5 separate regions of the Homo sapiens genome follow, and all the other regions are linked to region 2. Evidence: promoter capture Hi-C in 16 types of primary human blood cells and fetal thymus (Javierre and others, 2016). All regions are on one chromosome and are shown on one strand. Each heading gives the region's core, a stretch centred on a gene start or on the middle of the fragment in contact. The rest is flanking DNA. Distances are from core to core; before and after follow the strand shown.

What was found. Contacts are between HindIII fragments. The CHiCAGO score rates a contact against its expected background, and 5 or more counts as called.
Region 1: a contact is called between a fragment that was not itself captured here and the fragment with the promoter of IL2RB-AS1 in region 2, in 2 of 17 cell types (M2 macrophages and M1 macrophages). The highest score is 5.5, in M2 macrophages.
Region 3: a contact is called between a fragment that was not itself captured here and the fragment with the promoter of IL2RB-AS1 in region 2, in 2 of 17 cell types (endothelial precursors and activated CD4 T cells). The highest score is 5.4, in endothelial precursors.
Region 4: a contact is called between a fragment that was not itself captured here and the fragment with the promoter of IL2RB-AS1 in region 2, in 2 of 17 cell types (M2 macrophages and M1 macrophages). The highest score is 6.4, in M2 macrophages.
Region 5: a fragment that was not itself captured here is called in contact with the fragment with the promoter of IL2RB-AS1 in region 2 in 1 of 17 cell types (neutrophils); the score reaches 5.1 in neutrophils.

What each region holds. Positions count from the first base shown.
Region 1 is chr22:37,002,696-37,007,931 of GRCh38, forward strand. It overlaps CIMIP4 (ciliary microtubule inner protein 4), which reads right to left and starts at 5,156. Exons shown (of 6, transcript NM_001163857.2): 1 at 5,034-5,156; 2 at 1,271-1,330. The coding sequence starts at 1,292. The HindIII fragment of the contact is 705 bases long and covers 2,680-3,384 here.
Region 2 is chr22:37,165,240-37,170,437 of GRCh38, forward strand. IL2RB-AS1 (IL2RB and C1QTNF6 antisense RNA 1) reads left to right here and starts at 1,520. Exons shown (of 2, transcript NR_199008.1): 1 at 1,520-1,725. It also overlaps a transcript of IL2RB not described here. RefSeq lists enhancers at 1,691-1,740, 3,055-3,114. The HindIII fragment of the contact is 5,870 bases long and covers 1-2,587 here.
Region 3 is chr22:37,030,155-37,035,894 of GRCh38, forward strand. LOC112268295 (a long non-coding RNA gene) reads left to right here and starts at 1,895. Exons shown (of 2, transcript XR_002958751.1): 1 at 1,895-3,172; 2 at 4,405-5,359. RefSeq lists enhancers at 2,650-3,167, 3,260-3,925. The HindIII fragment of the contact is 3,288 bases long and covers 2,126-5,413 here.
Region 4 is chr22:36,987,359-36,992,919 of GRCh38, forward strand. It overlaps CIMIP4 (ciliary microtubule inner protein 4), which reads right to left. Exons shown (of 6, transcript NM_001163857.2): 5 at 4,123-4,233; 6 at 3,767-3,918. The coding sequence ends at 3,821. Among named protein-coding and RNA genes, the nearest start is that of CIMIP4, 18 kb to the right of the region's middle. The HindIII fragment of the contact is 2,121 bases long and covers 770-2,890 here.
Region 5 is chr22:37,321,011-37,326,770 of GRCh38, forward strand. The region is part of intron 1 of LOC105373024 (a long non-coding RNA gene); the gene reads right to left. Among named protein-coding and RNA genes, the nearest start is that of CYTH4, 41 kb to the left of the region's middle. The HindIII fragment of the contact is 2,808 bases long and covers 210-3,017 here.

The sequences.
Region 1 (5,236 bases), core at 1,782-4,281, 160 kb before region 2:
TTCCATCTTGAAACCTCCCCCTCACTCTCCGCAGTGAGAATCTGGCAGCAGCGGCACTGGCAGAGGCGTTCCTGGGGCTAAGCCACATGCCTGGGAAGTACTGGAGTTGGATGGGACTTCCAGACTTTGCTTCCAATGCAAGACTGCTCCCCAATACCTACCTCCTCCCTTCGCCAGGGCTGAGAAGTGGCACCATCCCAGCCACCTCCCAGGCTCTCTCCTCCCCGCCTCTCCCTGTCTCCCACGTCCCTGCCCACAGCCTCCGCTTCTCTAGGTCTCTTGCTCTCAGCCTTCAGTGTCTCCTCACAGCCTGGCCTCATCCTCCACCCCAGATTACAGCTGTAAATATGTTTGGTGGTCTTCCCTCCAAAACTTCAAGTCCTCTTAAAAGATACATAAGGGCTGGGCATCTTGGCCGTCAGGCCTCTGAGCCCAAGCTAAACCATCATATCCCCTGGATGATAAACCTCCGCAGAGTTTATCTAAATGTGGCCATGTATGAGGATTCCCTAGGCTCTCATTAAAAATACAGATGCCTGGGACCCTCTCAGAGCTGCTGCATCAGAAAGGCCCTGAATCTGAGTGTTTAACAAGCCCCTGGGCATTCAGGTCATTGGAGGAAGATTTTAGCAGGATCGCTGCCCCAACTCACTGGACTCTCTTCTCCCCATCCCACCTGCCAGCCCCAGCCAACCTGCACTCACCCCTGGGGACCATTCTCAGAGCGGGCCTGACTCAGTCACGCCTGCATCAAAATCTTTCCTCTTGTCCTCAGGGCAGAGTGCCTGCTCTCGGGACTCCACAAAAGTGCCAGCCGTCTCTCCCTCCCAAGCCTTTGCCTGAGCTATTTCTCCTGCCTGGAACACTCCCCTCCACTCCTTGGGCTACACTACCCCTGCTCTTGGCTCACGTGTAACCCCATATATACCTCCCATCCATTGAGGCCAGGCCCCTCACCATGTTCCCCCACAGCCCTGCCCTTCTGGTACACACAAGACTCAGAGCACCTGAGTCACCCCCTCAGGATGGAGACCATATCGGGGTGATAATCCCTGCACATGGCAGGATGGGAGGGCTCAGTAATTCCGTTCCCTCCTTTTTCCTTCTGTCTTCCAACAGAATGCCCCCCTAGGAAGCCTGGGCCGATGGTGGGTCTGGAGGCCAACACAAGACGGAGCGGGAGGAGAAAGGGCCGGTGCCCTGCTGCCCCAGGGAGTCCCTCCAGAAGCCTGGATGTGCATTCAGCACATCCCTGGTCTGCCTGTCCTACCTGCTCCGTGGCCCAGCTCCATAGCCTCTTGCTGTGGGACAGGCAATTCCAAGCTTAGTCCTGTAAACAAAGCACCACGTTTCATCGTCTCAGATAACACACAGAGTTTCTGTGAACAAGGATGAGCTGGGAGCTGAACAGGAAGGCCTGTGGCTGTCTGCCCGCCCCTGATCAGAGGTTCCTAAGCTGCCCCTGGTGCCCTCTGGCACTGCCCAGACCCACGGAGCCTCTGCCCCATTCACTCATCACCCCTGGCACAGGGGCTGCCTCCTGGACTTCTGCAGCCTCTGCCCTCTCTGAAAAGCCCTGGCCACCCCCACCCCACCCCACCAGTCCTCAAAGACCTATCTCAAGCAGCCTTGGAACCCTGGGCTCATTTTACTCCTTCATAATTTTTCCTTTCATCTCCTCCTCCTCTTCTGCCCCATCACCACCACCCTAGGAGACCCTAGCAGGCCCCTGGCTGTGAAGCCCATTGCCCCGGCTCCCATCCTGGCAACCATTTGTCTTCCTGCAAATAGGATTGTATCCATTTGCTGAATGGTCGTTCGTGCTCAGGGAAGGGAAGCAGCTTAGCCACCACGAAGGAGAACCAAGAGCAGGAACCCACACTTTGCTCTGGTGTAAACTCAGTCTTCTCTCTAAGGCCTTGGATTCAAATTAGAGGGGTAGATTCAAAAGCCTCTGCAGCTTTCGTGCTTGTGTTTTGTTTTCTTATGTGATCTTTCTTTTTTTTTTTTGAGACAGGGTCTTACTCTGTCACCCAGGCTGGAGTACAGTAGTGCAATCTCAGCTCACTGCAACCTCCACCTCCCAAGTTCAAGCAATTCTCCCACCTCAGCCTCCTGAGTAGCTGGGATTACAGGTGTGCACCACCACATCTGGCTAATTTTTGTATTTTTAGTAGAGACAGGGTTTCACCATGTTGGCCAGGCTGATCTCTAACTCCTGGCCTCAAGTGATCCACCCGCCTCAGCCTCCCAAAGTGCTGGGATTACAGGTGTGAGCCACCGTGCCCGGCCTGTGACTTCGGTTTTGTTTGCTCTCTTTCCCTGGTTCTCCTTGGTTTGCTCATTCTGATGACAGCAAATGCCGTGTTTTGAGCTGCCCTGTGGAGCAGCCCATGGAGCAAGAAACTGAGGGTGACTTCTGGCCAAAAGCTCATAAAGAATAGAAGCCCTGAGTCCAACAGTCTTTGAAGAACTGAATGAATCCTGACACCTGAATGAGCTTGAAAGTGGATCCTTCCCCAGTTGAGCCTTGATATGAGAACACAGCCTGGATGACACTTTCATTACAGCCTGTGGGATACCCTGGGCCAGAGGACCCAGCCAAGTGAGCATCCTGACTCCTATAAGTTCTGAGATCATAAATTTGTACTGTTTTAAACATACAGTGTCAAACTTCTAAGCTTTATGGTCATTTGTTACGCAGCAATACATAGCTAATACATATTTTGGTACTAACAGTGGGGTGTTGCTATAACAAATACTTAAAAATTTGGGACTGAACTTGGAACCAAGCGGTGGTCAGAGTCTATAAGGATTTTGAGAAGCATGATAGAAAAAGCCTAAATCACCTTAAACAGTTTTTTTTTTTTTTTAAGCAGAAATCTGGAGTTGGAAGATGCAGTGAGTGAGGGCCCAAATGGAAGTGAGGAATATATTACTAGAAATAGTGGAAGAAAGACCCTTGTTATGTAGTGGCAGAAACAGTGACACTGTCATCTGCAGTTATGTGACTAATGAACTGAATGATTTAGCTAAAGAGTTCCAAAGAAAAGATGGTAGTTGCCTCTTACTTTCTTCTTGCTGCTTGTAGTGAAATGTGAGAGGAAGGTGATGAATTGAAGAAGGGACTGTTAAACAAAAAGATGCCAGTACTTAATGGTTCTGAAGTCTCATCCTTTCCAGATCCCAAAAGATGCTAAAATTAAGAAATAGCTTCAGAAGGCTGTCTGGAAAGTGTGCCCAGGAGTGTGACTGTGCGACCTGTTGTTAAAACTTCAGAAAGATCAAAGGATGAGGGTATTACTCTGTCAAACAAAGGGTGCTTTAAAGAGATTAAAGAGATGCCTGATATATCCTCTTAACAGAACCATAGGACCTCTAGGAAGCTTAAGGCTCCTCAACAGGAGCCTCAGTTAAAAAGGGGTGTGACTTTTGTTCAATGGAGTGAACCCCTGTAAGTTTTACTGTTGAGAAAATAACATCAGCAAAATGTTGGCAACTTCGGGTAAAAGGGATAGAGACAGTACAAAATGAAAAGATACCATTGAACAAAAAATAAAAATAAAAAAGACAAGTCAGAGAGTGGATGCAAGAGTCCAGAAGGCAGAGCTGAGAGCCATGGAGAATTATCCCCAGGCCTTGAAACCTAATCAAGGAATGTCCAACATTTGTGTGGCTGGATTTCAAAACCGCTATGGAACATTGACTCCATGTCTCCATTTTCCTCAATTTTGAATAGGAATGTCACTAGTTCTTATCCTATGCCTATCACATCACTGTATGTTAGGTGTGTTCAGGGCAAATTACTTAGTTTCACAGATCTATGATGGGGAAGAATTGAATCTGAGAAGCTGTACTTAAGGAACGACACTGGAGGAGCCTCAGCCACACCTGGAGCTGATTTATATGACCAGATTCTAGCTTTTAAACTGATGCTTTAATAGGATGAGAATTTTAAAGATCTTAGGAGGGGATGACTATATTTTGCATGTGGAAGGGATGTACATTATTGGGGGCCAGAGGGCAGAGAGTGGCAGGCAGTTGACATGGCTCCCAATGATCCCTGTTTCTTGGTATAATTCTCTCCCCTTTGGTGTGGACTGGACATAGTGATGAATGGAATGTGGCAAAAATGAGGGATGTTGCATCCATGATGAACTTATAAGAGACTACAACTTCTGTCTTTTTCACACACTCTCTGCAGCTCTCCTCAGCTCATCTTCTCTGACAGAAGCCAGTTTCCCTGTTGTGAGATGCCCTATGGAGAGGTCCACAGGGCAAGGAACTCAGAGTGGCCTCTTGCCAACAGCTCCAGAGTAGCTGGATCCTGCCATGTGAATGGGTTCCTTCTCTGGTCGAGCTTTGAGATGAGACTAGAGACCCAAGCAACACCTTGATTGCAGCCTGTGAGAGACCCTGGGACAGAAAAATCACCAACACTCCACCGGTATTCCCAACTCACAGAAACTGTGAGATAGTAAATGTTGTCTTAAGCCCACTAAGTTTTGGGGTGATTTGTTGTGCAGCAAGAGATAACTAACACAAGTCCATGTCAAGCATTCTCACATCTGGTAAATTAGTCTGGTCTTCACAAATACCCAGTAAGGTGTTCGGAGACACTACTAATTTATCTTCTTTCACAGATGGAGAAAATGAGGCTCCGAAAAGACACAGGACTTCACCAGGTGGGGCTAAAATTAAATTGCACATCTTCAAGCTAGGTGAAGTTCAAGTTAGCTCCAAGTTTTCTTTCTCCTCCTATCCCCAGCCACCAACCTGACGTGCCCACGGCAGCTCTGTACGTCCCAGTGCACTGCCAGTCCACAGCAGTCTGGACGGGCTACAATGGAAGTGTGGACTCACTTCCAGTTTCTGACCCAGAGAGAGAGATCCCAAGAGACTTTGGTCAAAGAGGGCGGGAAGGTAAGTCCAGTCTAGGCAGTCTTCACTCACAAGCAACTCTGAATGGGGAGAAGGAAGATGAAACCCCATGTCCTGGAAGAACCCTGGCCCTTCATAAGTCTCTGCCTCACCTCTCCAATCTCTTTCATAACAGCAGGAAACACGTGAACCACACTGATGTGTGCTGAAGCCCAGAAGTGCAGATCCCCACTGCAGAACTACTGGTGAAGACCAATGGATGGTTGCTGGGAAGTGGCCCTCCCCAAGATGTTCATTGGAGTTGCCATGGTGATCACTATACACAGGGCTCTGTTACCTCAGAGGGCTGATAGGC
Region 2 (5,198 bases), core at 270-2,769:
GCTGCCGCCACCTTTGGAAGAAGAGAGCCATGAGAATTTGAGCTATGGCTGGCCGCATCTGTGCCTGCTCTGGCCGTGTGCCTCTGGCCTTCCAGAACCCACTCTGTCCTTCCTAATGTTTCTCTGACCGTGGCCTCTCCAGGGAGAGTCTGAATCATGATTTTCCCAGGCATGGAAGGTAGGAACACCTGCCAGTCAGCATGGAGCGTTTGTCAAGCGTCTGTATTATCCTGGCTCAGGGCTGGGAGTTATAGCAGCCACAAAAGATGCCCAAGACTCCACCCAGCCCTCAAGGAGCCCAGAGTTTAGCTGCAGGGACAGGAAATAGGCATGGGAACGAATGCAATATAATCACAGCTAAAGTTTGTATGAGATGTGCAGATGCTCCTGGGCAGCTGCCTCTTCAGGGCAGGCTTCATGGAGAAGAGGGCTTTTTTTAAAAATTTAATTTAATTTAATTTAATTTAATTTTATTATTGTTTGTGGGGTTGGGGGAGGAGGGGAGAAGAGGGCTTTGAGCCAGGCCTACCCAGGGCAAGTGCCAGAAGGACAGAGGCGGGGAGGACACAGGTGCAGACCGGCCTAAAGCAGACACTTGGAGCTGAAAACATCCTGAATCCAACCGTCCACAACTCCCCTCTACAGCATCTCCTCAAGAGGGCCAGACTCCCCTGAATTCTCCCTACGGCAAGGAAGTCATTCCTCGCCAGGGGAGCGAGATCATGGCCTGTCTGGTGTGCACGTGTGTGTGTCTTTGCCACAGGTGTGTTCTTTCCAGAACTCCTGTGAACAGGTGGGCCTCCTTTGTGCAAACCTGAGCCATGCACATCCAGCTCAGCTGATAGCTGGGCCAGGAGAGGTGACCTCACCGCCCATGCTCAAGGTCTCTCTGTTGCACTGGACAGGGCCCCTCCAGCCTTAGGCCCTTGAAGTCCTGGCTCCTTGGAAATGCCCCTGCTACTGGGGGGACCCTCAACTGCACCAAAGGACCGCAATGGAAAGGGGGCACTCAGCGCCAGAGCCTCCCCGCCCCCCCACCTCCTGCCGAGAGGAAGCCCAAAACTGGCACATCCACACACACAGCCACACGCCCCCTTTGAAGGCACTGCACCGCTGCGTGTGTTGTACACGGAGCCTGCGCTTCCTGGGCCAGAAGTGAAGCTAAGATGCACTCCACGCATTCAACCGTTGAACCCTCATTGCAGCCACCAGAGTTCTGTGCCACCCCTGCTCCGTTCCCGCGGTGGAGGGAGGACGCCTAGGCCTTGGGAGGGATCGGGAGCGCGTAGAGTGACACCCTGGGCTCCACATCCACGACACCTTCTCCCCCATCTGGACTGCCCAACTACTTCATGCCTACCTCGGGACTTTGCATGCAAAAGGCGCTCAATCATCCCTTCAAGAATAATTGAGTTAGAAAACAGCAGGGCACAATGACAGGTGGGCCCAGAAGTTGCCACCAGAGGGCAGTGCGCGCACCTCCCCAGCCTCCTCGAGACTTGTGCTGCAGGAGGGAGGTGAAGTCGCGGCCAGGAGCGTGACCACGCTGGACCGTGTCTGCTGCCTCCCCGGGAGTCGCAAGTGCCCACAGGACAAGCAGGGGAAGCAAACTGGGCCCCTGGCTTCTGGGAAGACAGCATGAGGGCAGACCAAGGAAAGGCAGCCGAGACCAGCAGACCTGCAAGGGATCTCGGAGGCTCTCAGGCCCAGCTGCTTGCTGAATAGGTAATGATGCATCTGGGCCCAGAGAGAGGCAGCTCTCAGCCTTAGGTCACACAGCAGGGCAGGAGTGTGAACTCTGGCCTCCAGCCTCCGAGGTCCCCTCATCCCACCTAACCCCCAGACTCAGAGAAGGACACTCCACCCAAGCAATTTCTCACCTTCCCCTTAATTGGTACAGATCAGAAACGGGAGCACCTCCTTCTCCTGGCCCCCACGTTTAGGGTTCCCAGGACAGCCTCCGACCCACCCTCTGCCCCTCCTGTATCCCTTTCCTCGGCCCTGGGTGACAGCACCCCTGCCCAGACCAGCTCTGACTGCCTCCAAGTGCCAAGCGCTCACAGTCCTCTACCCCCAGCCCCAGCCGGCACCCTCAGTCTCGTCCCACCATCTCTCTGCCTCCTGAGTCCCTCCCTGAGTCCCATGCCCTCTGCCCCAGCGACTGCCCTTGTAAAGTGAAAATCCGACCCCACCCAACATTTCCTGCTGCACTTATGCAGTATCCAGGCCTCCTCGCCATGGAAAGCCCAGGCCTGCGGCCTCTCTGGCTTCTTCTCTCCCTTGCCCCACTGCCCCTGGCTGTCTGGCAGTTCCTGGAAGTCTCCAAGCTCTTCCCTGCCTCGAGCCCCTGCCCACGTTCTCTCTGCCCCAGGCCTCAGCCTGCGGTCACTTTCTCAGGGCAGCTTTCCCAGCACCCCGTGCATCTAAAGTGGATGCTGCCCTGCCCATCACTGGATCAGGTGCTCATATTCCTAATTGACTGGGCATAGGTGGGAGGATTTGCCTGGTGTCTGTCTTCCTGGCTGGACTGCGGTGCCTCAAGGCCACAGGTGAAGTGCATGGAGTCCCACAGCTTCTCTGAGCCTAAAGCTTTGTGTGACAAATGCATTCAAACTGCATTTATTGAAAGATGGGAAGCAAGGGAGGAAGGGAAGGGGTGCGGGAGGGAGGGAGGACAATCTTGGTGTTGGGCTGAGGTGGCGTCTGTCCCCTTTGCATGAGTTCAGTAAGGATTTACTGAGCACCTGCTGGCAGCAGCATGCTGGGCACTGTGGGAATGACAAGGATGTGTGGGATTTGAACTCTAACTCAGAGTACCTTCTCTTGGTATGGAGGTAGGACAAGTATGCAAATGATTATAACTAAGGAAATCGTGTCAATGTGGTGACCCTTGGCCTGAACTTTCAGAACAGTCCTGGTATCACGTGAGAAGAGTAAATACATGTGATTTGATTCTAAACTGGCTAAGACGTTATTAAAGAAAGTAACAAGACAGAAAAAATACTTTTTCAGGCTGTCTGTGCAGTTTTGTCTTTAGAAAATGTGGTCATAATGAGTATGAGAGGCATAGAGCGTGCCCAGTTTGAAACGCCTGCAAATGACAAAACACAAAAACACAAACCCAAAAATAGAACGTGGCTTGGCTGGAGCCATAGGGGAGGCTCCAGAGGATGTGGCATCGGTGCTGTGGGCAGTGGGTCATTGTGCAAAGGCAGTGAGGGCTGGGTCCCCATCCCACCTTGGCCACTTCCTAGCTGTGTGATCTTGGATAAGTTCCTTTACCTCTCTGAGCCTGTTTCTGCATCTGAAACATGCGACTACTCCCCACCTCTTAGGTTCATGGGGATGGCATGAGATTGTGCACACAGAGAAGCCATCACCCACAGTTCCTGGCATGCAGGAGGCACCTGAGGAAGGCTGGGTTCTTCCTCTTCTCTGGGAGGATGGGGATGAGTGTTCCATAGGCCGGAATGGGTCGAGAGAAAGGGCCCAAGACAGAGGGAGCTGCAAGAGCCAAGGCACAGACTAGGTGGCTGAAGGCAGTTGGGGAACAACAATTATCACCAGAGCCTAATATTTCCCCAGCTCCATCTCCTTCCCTCCACGCCCAGTGCCAGAGGGGCACTGCTTATATAGGGGTTCTGCTTACAGAGGGGTTCTTGCTTACAGAGGGGTTCTGTTTACAGAGGGATGCTGTTTACAGAGGGGTTATTGCTTACAGAGGGGTTCTCGCTTACAGAGGGGTCCTTGTTTACAGAGGGATGCTGTTTACAGAGGGGTTCTTGTTTACAGAGGAGTTCTGTTTACAGAAGGGTTCTTGTTTTCAGAGGGGTTCTTGCTTACAGAGGGGTTCTGTTTACAGAAGGATTCTTGTTTTCAGAGGGGTTCTTGCTTACAGATGGATTCTGTTTACAGAGGGGTTCTTGCTTACAGAGAGGGGTTCTTACTTACAGAGGGGTTCTGTTTACAGAGGGGTTCCTGTTTTCAGAGGGGTTCTTGCTTACAGAGGGGTTCTGTTTACAGAGGGGTTCTTGCTTACAGATGGATTCTGTTTACAGAGGGGTTCTTGTTTACACGTTTACAGAGGGGTTCTTGTTTACAGAGGGGTTCTTGCTTACACAGGGGTTCTGTTTACAGAGGGATTCTGTTTACAGAGGGTTCTTGCTTACACAGGGGTTCTGTTTACAGAGGGGTTCATATTTGTTAGCGGGACGCTGCCATGTCATCCTTCACTCTGCATCCAGAGCATCCTTGCACACAACTCTTCAGGGGCTCCCCACTGCCCTCAAGACCCTATCCAAGCATCCTGAGTCTGGCTTCAAGGCTGTCCCTAACTGGGCCCCCTCTTGAAGATCCCCCTTTGCATCCAATCCTCTGGCCACACAGAACGCAGAATCGCTTGCATGCCTCCCCCTCCTCCCAGGGTTTGCCCCCTCCCTGCCCTGCATGTGGCATCCTTCCTTTGCCTTCTTATCCCGCGGACTCATCATCCTTCAGGCCCCGGGTTCACATCCTCCGTGAAGCCTCCCAGGCCTTTACCCTTGCTTTCTGATGGGGTTAGGTACCTGCCAGAGGCCTTCCTTCTCTCCCCAACTAAAGTGGGTGCTCCCCAAGGGCAGGAACTGAATCCCATTCATTCTGCATTTCTTTATGCTGCCTGGTATGTGCCTGGAGCATAGGAGGTGCTTAGTCATTGTGATGTGGATAGAAGGGTGGTTAATGGGTGAATGGAAAATGGACTGATGGATGAACAGAAGAAGGATGAATGGGGGGATCATGGAGGGAATGATGGAGGGAGAGAAGGAATGATGGGGGAGAAGGAAGGAAGGATGGGGGAGAAGGAAGGAAGAATGGATGGATGGATGGATGGATGGATGGATGGATGGATGGATGAAGGGATGAACAGACAGACGGATGGACAGACAGTGGATGTGGATGGACAGAATAATAAGACTCTTTCAGGAAGGCCAGAACACAGCAGAAAGGCCCTGAAGAAAACCAAAGCAGCTGCAGGAAGTTTGGTGTTTGCCAAGGTTGGGGGTGAAATGAGCTACCTGTTTTGCAGAAGAGATGGGGTGTGTTTTAGCAGCTGACATCACAGAAGGTGCAGGTCCCAAGACCTAACAGGAGAGCAGCTGAGAAGAGCAACAGCTCCTCATAGACAGGGATGGACAAGCTAGGCCAGCAGCGGGGGCAGA
Region 3 (5,740 bases), core at 2,520-5,019, 130 kb before region 2:
CTTAACAGAAGCCTGTGCCATGCCAAGGAGGAATGTCCCAGCCCAGCTGGGATGTTCTAGGGAAGGGCTAAGCTGAGCTGAATTGGAGGAGAACCTGGCTCTAAACTCTGGAAGCTCACACTTGGGGGCTGGTCTGTGGAATTCCCGGAGTGGGTGGACCCAGGGAGTTTGATTCTTTCTGCTCAAAGAGAACATCTCTCCCCATTTCCCAAGGGTAGGGGTTCCATCCTCCTTGCCCGGGATTTATCCTTTGTGCAGAGGTGGACGTAGGTGTCTGAGAAGGCCCCAAACTCCCCCCTGCCCATCACGACCTGGATTGCCCCTCCCCGTCTTTCCAGCCCTCAGGCACCATCTCAGCAGCGCAGGGGCAGTGTCCTGCCAGGCGGTACTGGGGAGAGCTCGAAGTTATCTTATTGGCCCTTCCTTTGGAAACGAGACCAGAGAGGGGCAGTGACTTACCAAGGCCACACTGAATTTATGAAGAGCCAGGGCCAGATCCAGATTCCCTGACTCAGTTTATTCCTCTTTTCACCTGACTGTATCCCCTCAACTTCCCCCTGATGCTGAGTCATTTCCCAAGTCCGCAGGGACGGGAGAAATCGACACAGCCTAGAATCTTGGTTTTCCAAGTAAGAGCTCTAAAGTAACTCCCAACCTCTCGGAGCCTCAGTTTCCTCCCCTAAAACATGGGAATCGTGTACTTCCGAAGAAGAAACTCAGATGAGAGCCCTTCCAAGAGTCCACTGCAGAGTCCCCGTTTTCCACACCGGGGGTTCTCAGCCTCAGTGCTGCTGACATTTACACTGAATGATTCCTTGTCATGGGGGCCGTCCTGTGTGCTGGGGGATGCTTGGCCGCGTTTCTGGCCTCTGCCCACTAGATGCCAGTAACACTGCCCAGTTATGACAACTGAAAGTCTCCAGATGTGGCCGGATGTCCCCTGGGGGGCAAAAATCACCCCCAGTCAAGAACCACTGCCCTAGGGGCAAATAACACAATTGACCACTGCAGTCAGGAACAGTGTAGACAGGGAACCCCAACATGGAGGGGCTCCCCGACTCCCCATCATAAGCACCTTCTCCCAGAAGTGGAAGTGAGGCAGTTTAGACACTCCCCCCTTTCTGGCCGGTCTCAGACAAGCTTTAGTTTTCCTTCCTGGAATGGCTCTGCCACTTTGAGGAGACAAGTTTGTCTGCAAACATGTGAGGTTCTGATCCAGCTTCCAGTCCCAACCACTCCACACAAGGCAGCCTGACCTCGAACATGCTGCCCAGCCTCTGCAGGCTTCCGTTTCTTTTTTCCCCCCCACCCCGAGATAAGAGTCTTGCTCTGTTGCGCGGGCTGGAGTGCAATGGCACGATCTCGGCTCCCTGAAACCTCTGCCTCGCGGGTTCAAGCGATTCTCCTACCTCAGCCTCCTGAGTAGCTGGGATTACAGGCACTCACCATCACGCCCGGCTAATTTTTGTATTTTTAGTAGAGACAGGGTTTCACCATGTTGGCCAGGCTGGTCTCAAACTCCTGCCCTCGTGATCCACCTTCCTCGGCCTCCCAAAGTGTTGGGATTACAGGCGTGAGCCACAGCGCCCAGACCCGTTTCTTCACCTGTAAAACGGGCAAAATAGTACCTTCCTGGCCAGCACGGTGGCTCACGCCTGTAACCTCAACACTTTGGGAGGCATAGGTGGGAGGATCACTTGAACTCAGGAGTTCAAGACCAGCCTGGACAACATAGTGAGACCTCATCTGTAGGCAAAAATAAGAAAAAAGATGAGCCGGGCAGAGTGGCATGTGCCTGTAGTCACAGCTACTTGGGAGGCTGAAGTGCAAAGATCGCTTGAGCCTGGGAGGTCAAGGCTGCAGTGAGCTGTGATGACACCACCGCACTCCAGCCTGGGAAACAGAGCAAGATCGTATCTCAAAAAAAGAAGTACCTTCCTGAGCAGTATGAGGATTACATGAGATAATCCACAGAAACTGTTTTGCTTGGTGCAGAGTAAACACCAAGGGTTTCTTCCCATTAGTTTTAAAGGAGTTTTACTTATTCAGCATGTTAAGTGCCTTCTGCACTTCCGGCATTGGAGGAGAGAGAGTGACAAATAGAATTGTGTCCCAGCCCTCTCAAAGCTTCCAAACTAGGGAGGAGAAACTAGTCTTTTAGAGTACATTTCCAGAGAGAAGGGGGTGCTGTGAAATGATCTATTTCACAACAGACTAATTTTACAGGTGGGAAAACAAGCTCAGAGAGGTTCAGTGATTTGCCTCAGGGCACACAGCTAGTTTGCTAGAGGAACCTAACTGGAGTTAGAATTCTCCAGGGGAGGAGTTTCTCCAGCGGATCTTGCCTGCCATGGTTTTCCAGATTCCAGGATCAAGGTGAGAACAGAAACGCATGAGAAGCTCAGGGAAGATGGCCACGTGTTTCTCAGCTCCACAGGGAAACCTTGAGCAGTGGAATTTAACCAATGGGTTTGGGTTAGGCGCCCTTCCCCTACCCTAGTCCAACCTGCAGCAAGGAAACCAAGGCTGATTCCAGCCCGGGCTTTTTTCTCCTGGGAAGGTCCTCCTTGGGTCTGGACAGGCTCGGAGGTGACCTGCCTAGAGGTGGGCGATCTAGCCGCACCTTTCTAGGACTACAGAGCTTCAGTTTAACTTTGCAGGAGTTTGTTAGGAATGAACTAGACACGCACCCTCCGCCCAGCTCCGTCCCGCCTCCTGCAAGCCTGAACTCTTAGAATAATTAACCACTGACTGCAGGATCCTGGCCTCTGCCAGGGCCCGCCCTACCCAACCTGTGTGTTCGAGGCAGGAACTTGCAACACTGAGCAACAAGAATGATGAAATTTTTATCCACTTGGCAAATATTTGCTCGGCGCCCCCTCTGTGTCAGGAACAGTTGGAAATGCGTTTCCCAACCTTGCCTAACCAGCTGCCCTGGAATGTTTTCCACTTCCTGGGTCATTGCCTCCAGAGATCAAAGCCCCCATCCACACAGTGGGCTGAATATGGATCCATGCAGCGATCTGGTCCTGGTGCTGTGGAATCAGCTTTGCACAAGGCCCCAGAAGGTCTGCGTTCCAGAGCCTTCCTGTTGGGGCCTCAGTCTTCTCATCTGAAAAATGGGAGCAAACTCAGTTCTGCCATGCCCAGTGTGGGTGTGATGTCACATCAGGTAAGGCTCAAAATGAAGTCAGGTGTCACACCTACTGGAATAACCTCAGCTCTATAAGCACAATGGAGCTTTATTATCCTTAACTCATGGAGGATGAATCACTTGGGGGAAGATGAAATGTTGAAATATTCAGGTTAACGGAAAGTGTTATTTTAAGCACCTAAATTTTTTGCCTATTAACCTACTAGGGGTGGAACTTGGTAGGCTGATCTTGCCTGAACTTCTGGGGGCTTTGTTTGATCCCTTGATTGCACAGCGATACCTGCAGGGGCTCCTTGCCCCTCAACTGTCAGGATGTTGAGGTCTTCAGGTCCTCGATACTGAATCCTAGCTGACTGCCCTTCTGGTTTCCCGTCTGTGTTCTCTGGAGTCTCCCTCGGCCTGCTTCGAGGCGGGCCCGCTCTCTAGATAATGCTGCCATTCGGATGGTTTCAACGACTGTGCTGAGCCAGTGACTCTGGAATCGGGGCCTCCCGCAACTCGATTCCTCCTGAACTCAGATCCCTGAGTCATGGCCTCCCAGCCCCAAGCCTGCTCCTCCACCTGTGTCCCCTGTCTCAGTGTGCACGGTCACCACTTGTGGGTCACCCAGGCCCACACCTGGCAGCAAGTGATCTGAGACTCTGTCCCACTTACCTACAGCCGGTCAGACCTCCACCTCTACTCCCATTGCCTTTGTCCAAGTCCCCCACTCAGCCCGCACCCAGCACTCAGCCTGTCTCCTCCATTCATTCCAGGGTACTTCCTAGGGACAGGCCCTGTGGCAGGATCTGGGGGCATGGAGGATAAAGACCAGCCCTGAGAGGGGGCATTCGCCCCATGGGGAGGGACAGACATGGATCCTGGCAACAGCGTGGCGAGGAGTATCTGAGAAGTGGAAACACAGAGAACCGCCATGGGTTGGGGGGCTGGTTCTGGGTCTGAGAGGCACCTCCACACCCACGCATAGTCCCTTTTATGAATTCCCTGGACTGTGCCCTCTTGCTCCAGGGAGAGCTGCAGCAGGGGACGGTTCAAAGGGCAGCCTCCGGAGCACCCTGACCTCCAACTCCCTGGCCGTGAGTGTGGGCAGAGGGGCCTGGATTTCCTCATCTGAGACGTGGCAATAATCCACTTTATAGGATTGCTGTGAGGATGAAGTGATTTGGTTCATACATAGCACTGAGAGCAGAAGCTGACCTCATAAGCACCAAATCCACGGGCTTGTTTGTTTGTTTGTTGTTTGTTTTAAGATGGAGTCTCGCTCTGTCACCCAGGCTGAAGTGCAATGGCAAGATCTCAGCTCACTGCAACCTCCACCTCCCAGTTTCAAGCGATTCTTGTGCCTCAGCCTCTGGAGTAGCTGGGATTACAGGTGCCCACCACCACACCTGGCTGATTTTTGTATTTTTAGTAGAGACGGGGTTTCACCATGTTGGTCAGGCTGGTCTCAAACTCCTGACCTCAAGTGTTCTGCCTGCCTTGGCCTCTCAAAGTGCTGGGATTACAGGCCTGAGCCACTGTGCCCGACCACCATGTTGTATTGTTACTGTTACTGCTCTCCTGTCCTGCACCTGCCCTGCCTGCCTCCCTTGGCTGGGCTGTAAAACCTTGAGGGGTAACGTATCTTATTCATGTTTCTTGTCCTGGTACCAGCACAGCAACTGACATGGATGGGGGGTTAGGGGCTCAGAAAGCATTGCCCTAAAATATGGCGCTCTGACATGAAGCAGCCTCAAGGTCTATCTGACCTCCCTGCCTCCTTCTCTGAATCCTCTGTCTCTCTCAAAGTGCAGGATGACGCTGTTCTCTGAAGTTTCTTTATCTGCCTAGAAACGGGACCTGCCAAAGGGGAACACAATTACCTTCCCTGGAATATCATTAGCTAGAGGTTAAAACTCATATCCTAGAGGATATGAGACTGAACATTAAACACCACACCTACAGCCCAGATAAACTTCATCCCAAACCATTATCTGCTCTCTTTCCCTTTCAATGTCCAAAGAAATTATTAATTATCATCTGGACGCTGGACTCATTCATTTCCCCCCTAAAAACCATTGACTGTCCTTCAAATTGCCACGTGTCCCCCATCTCTCCTTCCCCCGTGAAGAAGGGCGCATGCACCTGTACCCCACTGGGTTATTGGGTAACTTCTGTGATTCCCTCATGCTCTGCACGTTGAAATAAATTTTGTCTTTTCTCCAATTAATCTTCCTTTTGTCTGTTGATTTTCAGCGAGCCTTCACGAGGAGAAAGGGAAGCTTTCCCTTTGTCTCTGCAGGGGCCAATGAATGTTTAATATTACACAAGTACACTCTCAGGGCTGAGAGGCACCTTAATAACCCCTCCTGTTTACTGTTTCCATGTGCCAGAGAGGATGCTAAGTGCTTTGCCTCCATTTACTCTAACCACTCCGAGAAACAGGTGTTATTATCCTCCATAAGTCAGGTGATTGAGGTCAGGAGTTCGTGACAGCCTGGCCAACATAGTCAAACCCCGTCTCTACTAAAAATACAAAACATTAGCTGGACGTGGTGGTGGGTGCCTGTAATCCCAGCTATTTGGGAGGCTGAGGTAGGAGAATCA
Region 4 (5,561 bases), core at 580-3,079, 180 kb before region 2:
GTGTCTCACTCAGTTGCCCAGGCTGGAGTCCAGTGGCACGATCTTGGCTCACTGCAACCTCCGCCTCCTGGGTTCAAGTGATTCTCCTGCCTCAGCCTCCAAGTAGCTGGGACTACAGGCACCTGCCACCATGTCTGGCTAATTTTTTTGAATTTTTAGTAGAGACACGGTTTCACCACATTGGCCAGGCTATTCTCAAACCACTGACCACAAACGATGTGCCCACCTCAGCTTCCCAAAGTGCTGGGATTACAAGCATGAGCCACTGCACCCAGCTGAGAACAAGAACTTTTAATACTTGCCAGGTTGTTTTCCTATTGTAAACTATGCTGCAATGGAGATCTTTGCACGCACTCCCTATATACATGTTCAAGGGTTTGTCTAGGCTGTGTAGAAATGGAAATTGTAGGTTGTATGATATAATTTCAATTTTGCTAAATACTCACCCACGGCTCTTGGCTCATAATTCATCAAGGGTACGAAAGTTTCCATTTCCCTCATTCTCATCTACACTTGCGTTTTAATTCTTGCCAACCTGATGGATTGTTTTCATTTGCATCTCTGATTATTGGGGATAATGAGCATCTTTTCAACTCTTCCGTGTGGCTTCTTTAGTCATTAACTCTTTATGTTCCAGCCAGACTGTAAATTCCTAGAAGGAAGGTCTGAGTCTCAAATGTAAGGCCCTCACAGAGGACAGCCCGGTCCAGGCATAGACTCTCTGTTTCCTACCTCACCTCTGTGTTCCTCCTTGGAGCCCTACCTTCCAAGCTTAACAAGCTACCTGCAGCTTGCCAAATACATCATGCTGCAGTTTCATGCATACCATGCCCTCTGTCTGGAATGCTGTGCCTCTTCCAGTCCACCTGAACATCCTTATTCATGTTCCATGATTCATCTCAAGAGCCACCTCCTCTATGAAGCCTACCATATGACCGGCACCCTACCCCATCCCAGGCAGAGCTAACCACGTTCTCCTTTGTGCTTTTGCTGGCCCCACGTGAACGTCTCACCGCATGTGTAAGACTTCTGAGCATCTATGTACTGATGTATTTGTCTTCTCGCCAGACTCTGAACTCTTTGAGGACAGGCGCCATGTCTTATTTATTTTTGCACGTCCAGCTCATTGGTCAGGGCTGGGCAGGGGCATATCATGGGTAGATAAGTCTCTAAGGCAGCTTCTTCCACATCAATCTCCTGCAGACTGCAAAGCTCTGAGGTCTGGACTGTATTGCATATTGCATATGCATATTGCATATTGTATTGCATTCATATTGCTGTTTTCACCGTGCCTAATAGGGCTGAGTGTTTGTGGTGCTCCGTCAACAGGCACCACAAACACTCAGCCCTGTTAGGCACTGCACTGTCATACTACGTACACTGCAGTACGATTGCCTGGTAGAGTAGAAGTGACTTTGGATAGAAATTCCTGGGTTTGCACCCCCAGCTTCCTATGCATATAATCTTGTACAATTTCCTTGGCCTCTCCAAGCCTCAGTTTCCTCATCTTCATAAAGGGAGTGATAACAGCTCTGAGGACTGGTGTAAGGATGAAATACAGTTCCGTATATAAACCATGTGGCACATAATCATTTGCCACGTTATCATTTCTATGTCAGAACAGCACAGAGTCTGCTTTAGCCACAAGACTTTGGGTGGCTCATTTTTTCAGGTGTCACATGTGATGGGCACATAGTAGTTGATGAAGACAAAGTCTAGTGTTTCCAGTGCCCAGAACAGTGTCTTGCAGAAACTAGGTACCCAGTAAAGAAGTTGAACTGAACTCTGCACTTTGCACATAATTAGATATTTGATGAATATTAAATCAAGTCAGATTCACTTCCCTGTATTGCATTCTGATCCAACCCTACCTTTAAGTCATTCCTGGACGGGCGTGGTGGCTCACGCCTATAATCCCAGCACTTTGGGAGGCTGAGGCGGGTGGATCACTTGAGCTCAGGAGTTCAAGACCAGCCTGGCCAACATGGTGAAACCTCATCTCTACTAAAAATACAAAAATTAGCTGGTCATGGTGGTGCACTCCTGTAATCCCAGCTACTCGGGAGGCTGAGGCAGGAGAATAGCTTGAACCCAGAAGGCGGAGGTTACAGTGAGCCAAGATCACACCACTGCACTCCAGCCTGGACAACAGAGCCAGATTCCATCTCAAAAAAAAAAAAAAAAGAAAAGACAAAGAAAAAAAAGTAAGTAAGTCATTCCCTTTTGTGGGAGGAGGGGCAGTTGAGGGAGAAGTAGGAACATGTCTCCTCTTCTCCCAGTAGTGATTTTGATTCTTCCTCTCGCTTTTGATCTTTCAAAAGCAAGATGACCACCAGGACAAACTATTATTTTGAGGTCGCCAATGAACCATTCCTGCATACAGTAATACTCTTATGTAGTCCCCTCTCACAAAGTCTGGGCTTGGCCATATGTCTCTTTGGCCACAGGGACATTGACAAGCCAGTGCAAGGCTTGATAAACCATTGCACATTGAATCTTGTCCCCTGAGACGGCTCCTTCTTGAAACCTAGTCCCCATTCCAAAAGAAGCTCAAGTGAGCCACGAAGAGAGGTCCCATGAGAGAGAGTGATGATCAGCCAGCCCCCCACTGTGGTTCTCATCCCAGCTGAGGCACTAGGCATGGGAGAGGAGCAGGCGTCTTCACAGCAGATGCTATACAGAACAGAAATGAGCCGTACCTCCTGAGCCCTGCCTAAATTGCTCAATCATGAGCAAATTAAGGATCATGTCATTTTAAGCCCACAAGTTTTGGTGGTGTTTTGGAACACAGCAAATAATAAATAACCCATGGGTAGAGCACGGTCTGAGGGTGCAAGTCAGTGATCTCGGGGTGGAGTGTGCTGCGGGCTTAGAGACTCATCAGGTGAAAAGCTTCAGGATCAACTGGAAAACAGAACCGTCTGACCTAGAACCCATTATCTGGGGACTCTTCCCTGGGGCTCCAAGCCCCTATGGTCTGAGGATGCTTTTGGCTCCTTAAACAATGAGGAGACCTCAGGCTCACATTACAGGAAGTCCAGAGGCCGGCAGCTTCTGGCCAAGTTGATGGAGCAGCTCTGCGAGGCCATGGAGGACCCAGAATGTGCTGCATGGTCTGCAATTCCTCTGGTCATAGGTGTCTGGCAGGAGTGGTCTGGGCTGCATGGTTCCTCATTCATTACATCAGGAAAGATGGATGCTCTCTCAGCATTCCCAGCTGAGAAAAGAATTTCCCAGAAGGCTGCACGCATCCACACGTTTCCTTGCATCTTATTGGCCCAAATTGAGTCATATGTGCATGACTGAACCAATCACGTGCAAGAGGTGGGGTTGGGGTAGGGGTAAAGAATCACCATGAGACCAATCAAACCCGCCACTAGATTGGAGGAAATGTGTGTGGCCAACTCCTCTGAAGTCCGTGTCTCGTGGGGGAGGAATGGATGTCTGGGAATAATTGGCATCTTCTAGGAAGAGCATGTAGGGTAAGATCCAGCAGTGTCCACTATAGGACCCCCTCACATAGGGCATGTGGGAGAAGCCAGGCACCCTGGGCTTGAGACAGAGTCATGCCCAGCTCTCATGTCCTTTCCTGGGATAATGGATGAAGGTACGTGTGTGTGCATGTGTGTGCAGGAGGGAGGACTAGGGAATAGTTTGGGACCCCAGGGCTTCTATCTTCCCCCAGTTGGTCTCTCCAACACCACATATCGGCCTCTACTCCAGTGTGAAGAAAGGCACCAAGCACAGGAGGACTCGGACCTGAGCCTTTCCTTATTGTTAGCACTTTATTTGAGTAGAAGACACCTCTACTGTGTCAAAACTAGTACTTGGAGCTCTTGGATTTGCTGTTTTCTCCATATTTCTCTTCCAGTGCTTTCTGCAAGTTCAGGTTCATAGCATTTTTCTGGTGCCACCGCCCTACAGCGAGCAGGAGAAGAGCCAGCACAGATTAGATCATCTGGCAGTCTCTGGAGTTGCCCAGACCCCAGGGATGACTCGTACCTCTTCCAAGTCCACCCCGGCTCTGTCTCCTGCTCTGGTTTCTCTCTGACCCTTAGAGCCAACACACCCTGCTGGTGGAGGACAGTCCCTGCCTCCCATCACCCGCAGCTCCTCACTTACCCAGATCATCCGTCTTCCTGCCATGCCAGTGTTCTAAGTCCCTCACTGATTTCTCAATGACCTCTGGTGTGTAAGAAGCCTTCATGAGGCTCTTTGTCTCCTCAGCAGCCCCTGTAGAATACCATGAAGAAACCCCAAGTGCCCAATTCAGTGGCAGTCGGGTACTCCATGGCTTATATTGGGTGTCAGTTTCCTCTACGGATGGTAAATTGTGGAACGGAAGGAGAGTGGGAAGGGTTTCAAAGTAAAGTCGTTTGGGTTCAAACCCAGACTCCATTATTTATGGGTAGTATAGCCTCAGAGAAATTTTTAACCTCTCTGAGCTTCAGTGTCTTCAACTATACCAAGAAATGAGATTTTTTTGCATGGTTGGAAAGACAAAATTATTGGACATTCATCAAGACATCTAGCAAGTGGCAACTAATACCTGTAACTTAGGAAAACTTATCTCTGTTTTCAAAATTCAAACATGCACAAGCAGATACGTTGCAATGATCAAGAGTCAGCAGAAACACCAAAGGACAAAATCTCCCAAATTAGCAAAGATTTGAATGATCAGATACAGAATACAAAATAAGTATATTTAGGCCGGGGGCAGTGGCTCACGCCTGTAATCCCAGCACTTTGGGAGGCCAAGGCGGGTGGATCACGAGGTCAGGGGTTCGAGACCAGCCTGACCAACATGGTGAAACCCCGTCTCTACTAAAAATACAAAAATTAGCTGGGCGTGGTGGCGGGCTCCTGTAATCCCAGCTACTCAGGAGGCTGAGGTAGGAGAATTGCTTGAACCCGGGAGGCGGAGGTTGCAGTGAGCCGAGATCGTGCCACTGCAGTCCAGCCTGGGCAACAGAGAGAGACTCTGTCTCAAACAAACAAACAAACAAACAAAAAACCTATATTTAATGATTGAAACCATAAGAGAGAATAAAAATATAAGCAAAGAGTAAGAAACCATCCAGAAAGAGCAGATAGATTAGTAAGAGAAGCAAACGGAATTTCAGAAATGAAACACATAATAATTGAAAAAAAATTAAACTCCATGGCAATAAGATGCCTGGGACTTGCTTTGAAATAATCTTGGGTGGGAGTGGATGGGTGGGAGAAAAGATGAGACAAGATCGGCTATGTATTAATCATTGTTGAGGCTGAGTGGTATATGCAACATCTATTTATAAACTAAGTTCTCTTCTTTTCCATAAGCTTGAAAATTGCCATCATAAAAGTTTAAAAAGAAATTCAATTAACAGATAAAATAGCAGATCAAATAAAGCTGAGAGAAAATGGTAAACTGGAAGATATACCTAAAGAAATTAATATTAGGATGCAATACAAAGAAATAAAAAGATGTGGGCTGGGCGCGGTGGCTCACGCCTGTAATCCCAGCACTTTGGGAGGCCGAGAATATATATATAAATTCTATATATACATATATCTAAATC
Region 5 (5,760 bases), core at 364-2,863, 160 kb after region 2:
GGAGCCCACAAGGTAAACAGGATTATTCCCATTTAACAGATGAGGACGTGGAGGCTCAGAGAGCTTGTGACTTGCCCAGAGTCACACGACCAGGAACAGGCATCTGATCCAATTGCTAAGGCCAGGAGGAGCCACCAGCTAGAAGGCTCCAGCAGAAGGGCAGGATTAATTCTGTGACCTTTCCAGTCCCTGTGATCCTTTGAGGCTAAAGCTTAACTCTTCTCTTTCTCCCTCCCCCAAGGGATTTTCAGTTCATAAATAAGAGCCCAGAGGGGACCAACCTTTGATCCAAAGAAATGATTTTTTCAGAAAATGTCCCCCATTTAAAAATTAATAAAACATGCTCATTGCAGAAAATTGGAAAGCGCAATGAAGAGGAAGAAAAACTTAGACCAAAAAACAAATGAGATCATGTCCTCTGTTGCAACACGGCTAGAGCTGGAGGCCATTATCCTAAGCAAACGAACATAGACAGGAGCAGAAAACCAAATACCGCATGTTCTCACGTATAAGTGGAAGCTAAATAATGAGGACACATGAATACTAGGAGAGGGACAACAGACACTGGGGCCTTCTGGAGGGTGGACAGTGGGAGGACGGAGAGGATTAGAAAAAAATACCTGGTGGGTATTATGCTTATTACCTGGGTGACAAAATTATCCGTATACCAAACTCACATGGCAGTTTATCTATATAACAAACCTGCACATGTATCCCAATCCTAAAAGTTAAAAAAAAACCTAGACCAAGAATTCCTCTACCTGATAATTTTGTAAACATTTCAGAATATTTCCAACACACCTGTTATGTCTCTGCAATGATACTGCAAATGCAGTTTTGTAACCTTAAGCCAATTTTTTTTTTTTTTCTGGAGACAGATTCTCGCTCTGTCCCTGAGGCTAGAGTGCAGTGGCACAATCTCAGCTCACTGCAACCTCCTCCTCCCAGGTTCAAGCGATTCTCCTGCCTCAGCCTCCCGAGTAGCTGGGATTACAGGCATGCACCACCACACCCGGCTAATTTTTGTATTTTTAGTAGAGGCGGGGTTTCACCATGTTGCCCAGGCTGGTCTCGAACTCCTGACCTCAAGTGATCTGCACGCCTCGGCCTTCCCAAAGTACTGAGATTGCAGGTGTGAGGCACCATGCCCGGCCTAACACTTAAGCCTTAAAACTATGAAATCCGGATGTCCACGTGTATACCAGCCAGGACAGGTTAGGTTACACTGTGGCAACAAATATCCCCAAATCTCAGTGGCTTCACACACCACAAGAGGTTATGTCTTGCTCACACCCTATGCCCTGGGATTGCAGGGTAGGGATCGGCATGGAGTCTCTGCTTATCATAGTCACTCAGGGACCTAGGCTGAGGAGGTGCCATCCTGGCATGAATTGCCAGGAGCGCTGTCTGGATGTGACATGCCACTTCCGCTCACATTGCATTGGCCAAAACATGTCACATAGCTACCTCACTGCAAGGCCAGATGAAATACCATCCTACCACCGGCCATGCAACATGGGAGGACAGTAATACTTGGGGTGTGGCACTAGTGCCGATTATAGCTAGGGTGACCAATTGTCCCCATTTTCTCAGGACCAAGGAGTTTTCCAAAATGCCGGCCTTCTTGTGCTAAAATTGGGAAAGTCCTGGGCAACCCAGGAGGACTTGTCTGCTCCTATTGTACCACGTTGTGCGGTCTTTACACACTCACTTTTCAAAACTGCACAGCAGCCATCTTTTAGATGAACCAAGGTTTCTCTCCCCAGTCCCCTATTGCTGGAGACTCAGACTGTTTCCAGTATTCCATGTTTATAAATACATTGTCTTAAATACCTCCATGGATAAAACCATGTCTACTTCTCAGTGGCTTCTCAGAGGTGCCATTGGTGGCCGTTTACAGGCTCACAATACCTGTTATCCATAGGTAATTCAAAAAGGTTGAAACAATACAATTTGCCTTCTGCAGCGAAAGCACGTACCTGCTTTCCTTACCTTCTCCTGGAGCCCAGAGCAGTCATTCTCTAATTGTAGCCTCCAGCTCACCTGGAGAGCTCCTTAAAACAGATTGCTGGTCCCTAGCGCCAGAGTTTCTGATCCACGGGGGCTGGGATGAAGCCTAACCTTTGCGTTTTTGTGTGTGTGGTTTGTTTGTGGGTTTTTTTGTTGTTTGTTTGTTTGTTTGTTTTGATGGAGTCTCGCTCTGTTGCCCAGACTGGAGTGCAGTGGTGCAATCTCGGCTCACTGCAAACTCCAGCTCCCGGGTTCAAGCGATTCTCCTGCCTCAGCCTCCTGAATAGCTGGGATTACAGGCGTGTGCCACCACACCTGGCTAAGTTTGTATTTTTAGTAGAGACCGGGTTTCTCCATATAGGTCAGGCTGGTCTTGAACTCCCGACCTCAGGTCATCCACCTGCCTCAGCCTCCCAAAGTGCTGGGATTACAGGCATGAGCCACCGCGCCCGGCCAGATGCCACCACTTTGCCACCGAACAGGTGACCCTGCTCAGCTACTCACCAGAGGTCTAACCTGGAGCAAATTATGCAATTAGCCTCTCTTAGCCTAGGTTCCTATCTGTGAATTGGAGCAGTTGGGAGGATGGACTACCAGGGTAACCATGAGTTCAGTTAAAAATAGTTACAGTTATTCAGCGGTAAATTAAATAACTTTATGTTTTAAAATATTTGTGAGTTTGAATGGAACTGCATTGATTAACATTTGTATTCCTTTCATATCTGAGTGGGAATGGACTTTCTCCCTGTGAGGGTTAAGCATTTGTGTTTCCTTTCTAGTGTGAATCATCGCTCCTGCCCTTTGCCCATTCACCTGCAGGTTTCTCTGCCTTTCCTCTCCGTCTGCCTGGGATCATTACAGAGCAAAGATAAACCCCCATGGCCGTTCTTGATTGCTAGAGATTTTTCCAAAGCTGTTGCTCACCTGTCTGCTGGGGCCATTTTTCTGGCTTACAAAGTGGCCGAATCCATCTGACTTTCCCATTTTTATTTTCTCTATCACTTTTAAGCTTAGATTGGAGCCCTTCTCCAGAATGTGACAATATAAAGGAAATGGATTTTGAATGATGAGATTTCCTGCACCTTGAGGGGTGGTGGGGGTGGGGGATCCTGGCTCAACTCAAACCCTGTGGTGGTGATAGAAGGCATAGTCAGAAACCAAGAGCCCCTCAGCACCAGGACAACCCACCACCCTCAGCTCTCCTCGACATTAGCCACGCTGTCTCTCTCCCCATTTGCAGAGTCCCCCCGCAGAGAGGCACAGGGCAGGCCAGAGCTGGATGCGCGGCTGGAAGGTCAAAGGCATCATCCTCAGGTTGGAGACAGGATGACCGAAGGTGTAAGAACTGGCCAGAGGAGTTGGACAACTCCCAGCTCAGGTCTCTCCTCGACTGCTTTGGCCGTGTGAGCTTTGCCTCTCTGGGTCTCTGTTGTCTCATCCATAAAATGGGCCTGACCATGCCCAAGTCAACGGAAGGATTTAAATAGATCAGCGCCCTGAGGTCGGTGCTGGACGCCGAGTACACGCGCCCAGTACACAGGGCTTGAGCTCATTACACGCCCCAGTTCTGTTCCTGGGGTGGTGGCGTGAACCCCACTGCCTTTGCCTTTAATTGCACTGAAAATATCCAGCACCGCTGATATCAAGGGCCCAGGTCCCGGCGGAAATGAACTCCCAGACTTGGGCGCCCAGGTTTCCGTGCGCGACCCCAGCCCCTCCGGCTGCAGCTCAGCCCATCGGCCCTGCGCGGGAACAGTGTCACCCGGGCACCCGGGCCAGAACAGGCCACGCGTGTCCCAGGAGCGCGGGAAGCTCCCACGCCCCCTCCCCCGCACCGCTCCTTTGGCTGGCAGAGCGGGTCCTCAGCGCGTCTCAGCCGCACCAAGCGCCTCCCGCTCCCGCGCCACCCGGGCGCGCTGCTGGGGCCTGATTTCCATAATAATCAGCCAGAGATCTCCCGAAAAGGCTGGGAGCGGCCGCCGCCGCCCACCGGGGAAGCTCCCGAGGGTGGGCGCCCCCCTTCCCACCCTCCCTGCCGCCGCCGGGAGGGAGCCTCGTTTTTAAAAGCTTTCGAGAAACCGTCCGTGCGCAGGAGGCAGCTGGGAGACACCCAGGATGTCGTTCTCCGCATTAAGGAGGGGGACGGCGGTGGGGGAGGTGGGAGAGGCCGCGGCGCAGGTGTAGACCAGGCTCAGAGGCAAGGAGGGGAGGAGGGAAACTGAGGCAGCCGCGGGGTGGGGAGACGTTTCAAGGTATATTCTCACTGCAGCCTCACGGCGACCCTGCGGGTGAGTTATCTGCTATGCCCCACTTTACAGGTGGGGAAACTGAGGCCTAGAGAGGTTTCCAGTCTTCCAAGCTGGCAAGTGGCTGGGCGGGGACCCTTTTCCGAGTTGGGGGATTCAGATCCCCTGGCCTGCCCGGCACACTGCCTCCTGCCCAAAATGGGCAGCGTAGAAGCAGGATGCTCTGTGCATCCCAAGATGGGAGAACCAACCCGAAAGGGAAAGACCAGGGGGCTGAGGTCCGGCACACACTTGGAGCTGATCTGGTCCAGAAGCCCGTGGGCTCGCAGAACCTAGTTTGAACCCCAGCTCTGCCACCTCCCAACCATCCCCCAAGGGGTGGGCAAACTACAGCCCCTAGGCCAAATCCTGTCAAACTGTTATGGTACAACCAGAAACCAAGCATGTTTTTTTTTCTTTTTTTTCTCTTTTTCTTTTTCTTTCTTTCTTTTTTTTTTTTTTTTTTTTTTTTTTTTTTTAGATGGAGTTTTCGCTCTTGTTGCCCAGGCTGGAGTGCAGTGGTGCGATCTCGGCTCACTGCAGCCCCTCCCTCCTGGGTTCAAACAAGTTTCCTGCCTCAGCCTCCCAAGCAGCTGGGACTACAGGCACGGGCCACCACACCCGGCTAATTTTTTTGTATTTTCAGTACAGATGGGGTTTCACCATATTGGCCAGGCTGGTCTCAACCTCCTGACCTCAGGTGATCCACCCTCCTCGGCCTCCCAAAGTGCTGGGATTACAGACATGAGCCACTGCACCCGGCTAGGTTTTTTCTATTTCTGAAGATAAAAAAAAAAATTCCTGACATGTGAAAATTATATGAAATTTGAATTTCCATGTTCATCCACTTTTTTAATTAAAATACAGCCACACCCACTTATTTCTGGTACTGTCTATGGCTGCTTTCCCTCTACGGTGGCACCGTTGAATAGTTTTGACCAAGAAGCATGGCTCGTAAAGTCAAAAATATTTACTATGTAGCCTTTTCCAGAAAAGCTTTGCCCATCCCTGCAATAATGGGGCAACGATGAAGCCTCTACGCCTCGGTTTTCTCACCTGGACAGATGGGAATGCCATTAAGTGAGGATGAAGTGAAGGCTGGGAAAGCCCTGAGCACAGTTGGCAGCACCCATCTTAGAAATGCCTTTGACCGGCCCGGTGCAGTGGCTCACGCCTGTAATCCCAGCACTCTGGGAGGCCGAGGCAGACGGATCCCCTGAGATCAGGAATCCAAGACCAGCCTGAGCAACATGGAGAAACCCCATCTCTACTAAAAATACAAAATTAGCCAGGAGTGGTGGCGCATGCCTGTAATCCCAGCTACTCGGGAGGCTGAGGCAGGAGAATCGCTTTAACCCAGGAGGCAGAAGTTGCAGTGAGCTGAGATTGTGTCACTGCACTCCAGCCTGGGTAACAGAGTGAGACTCCGTCTAAAAAAAAAAAAAAAAGAAAGAAAGAAAGAAAA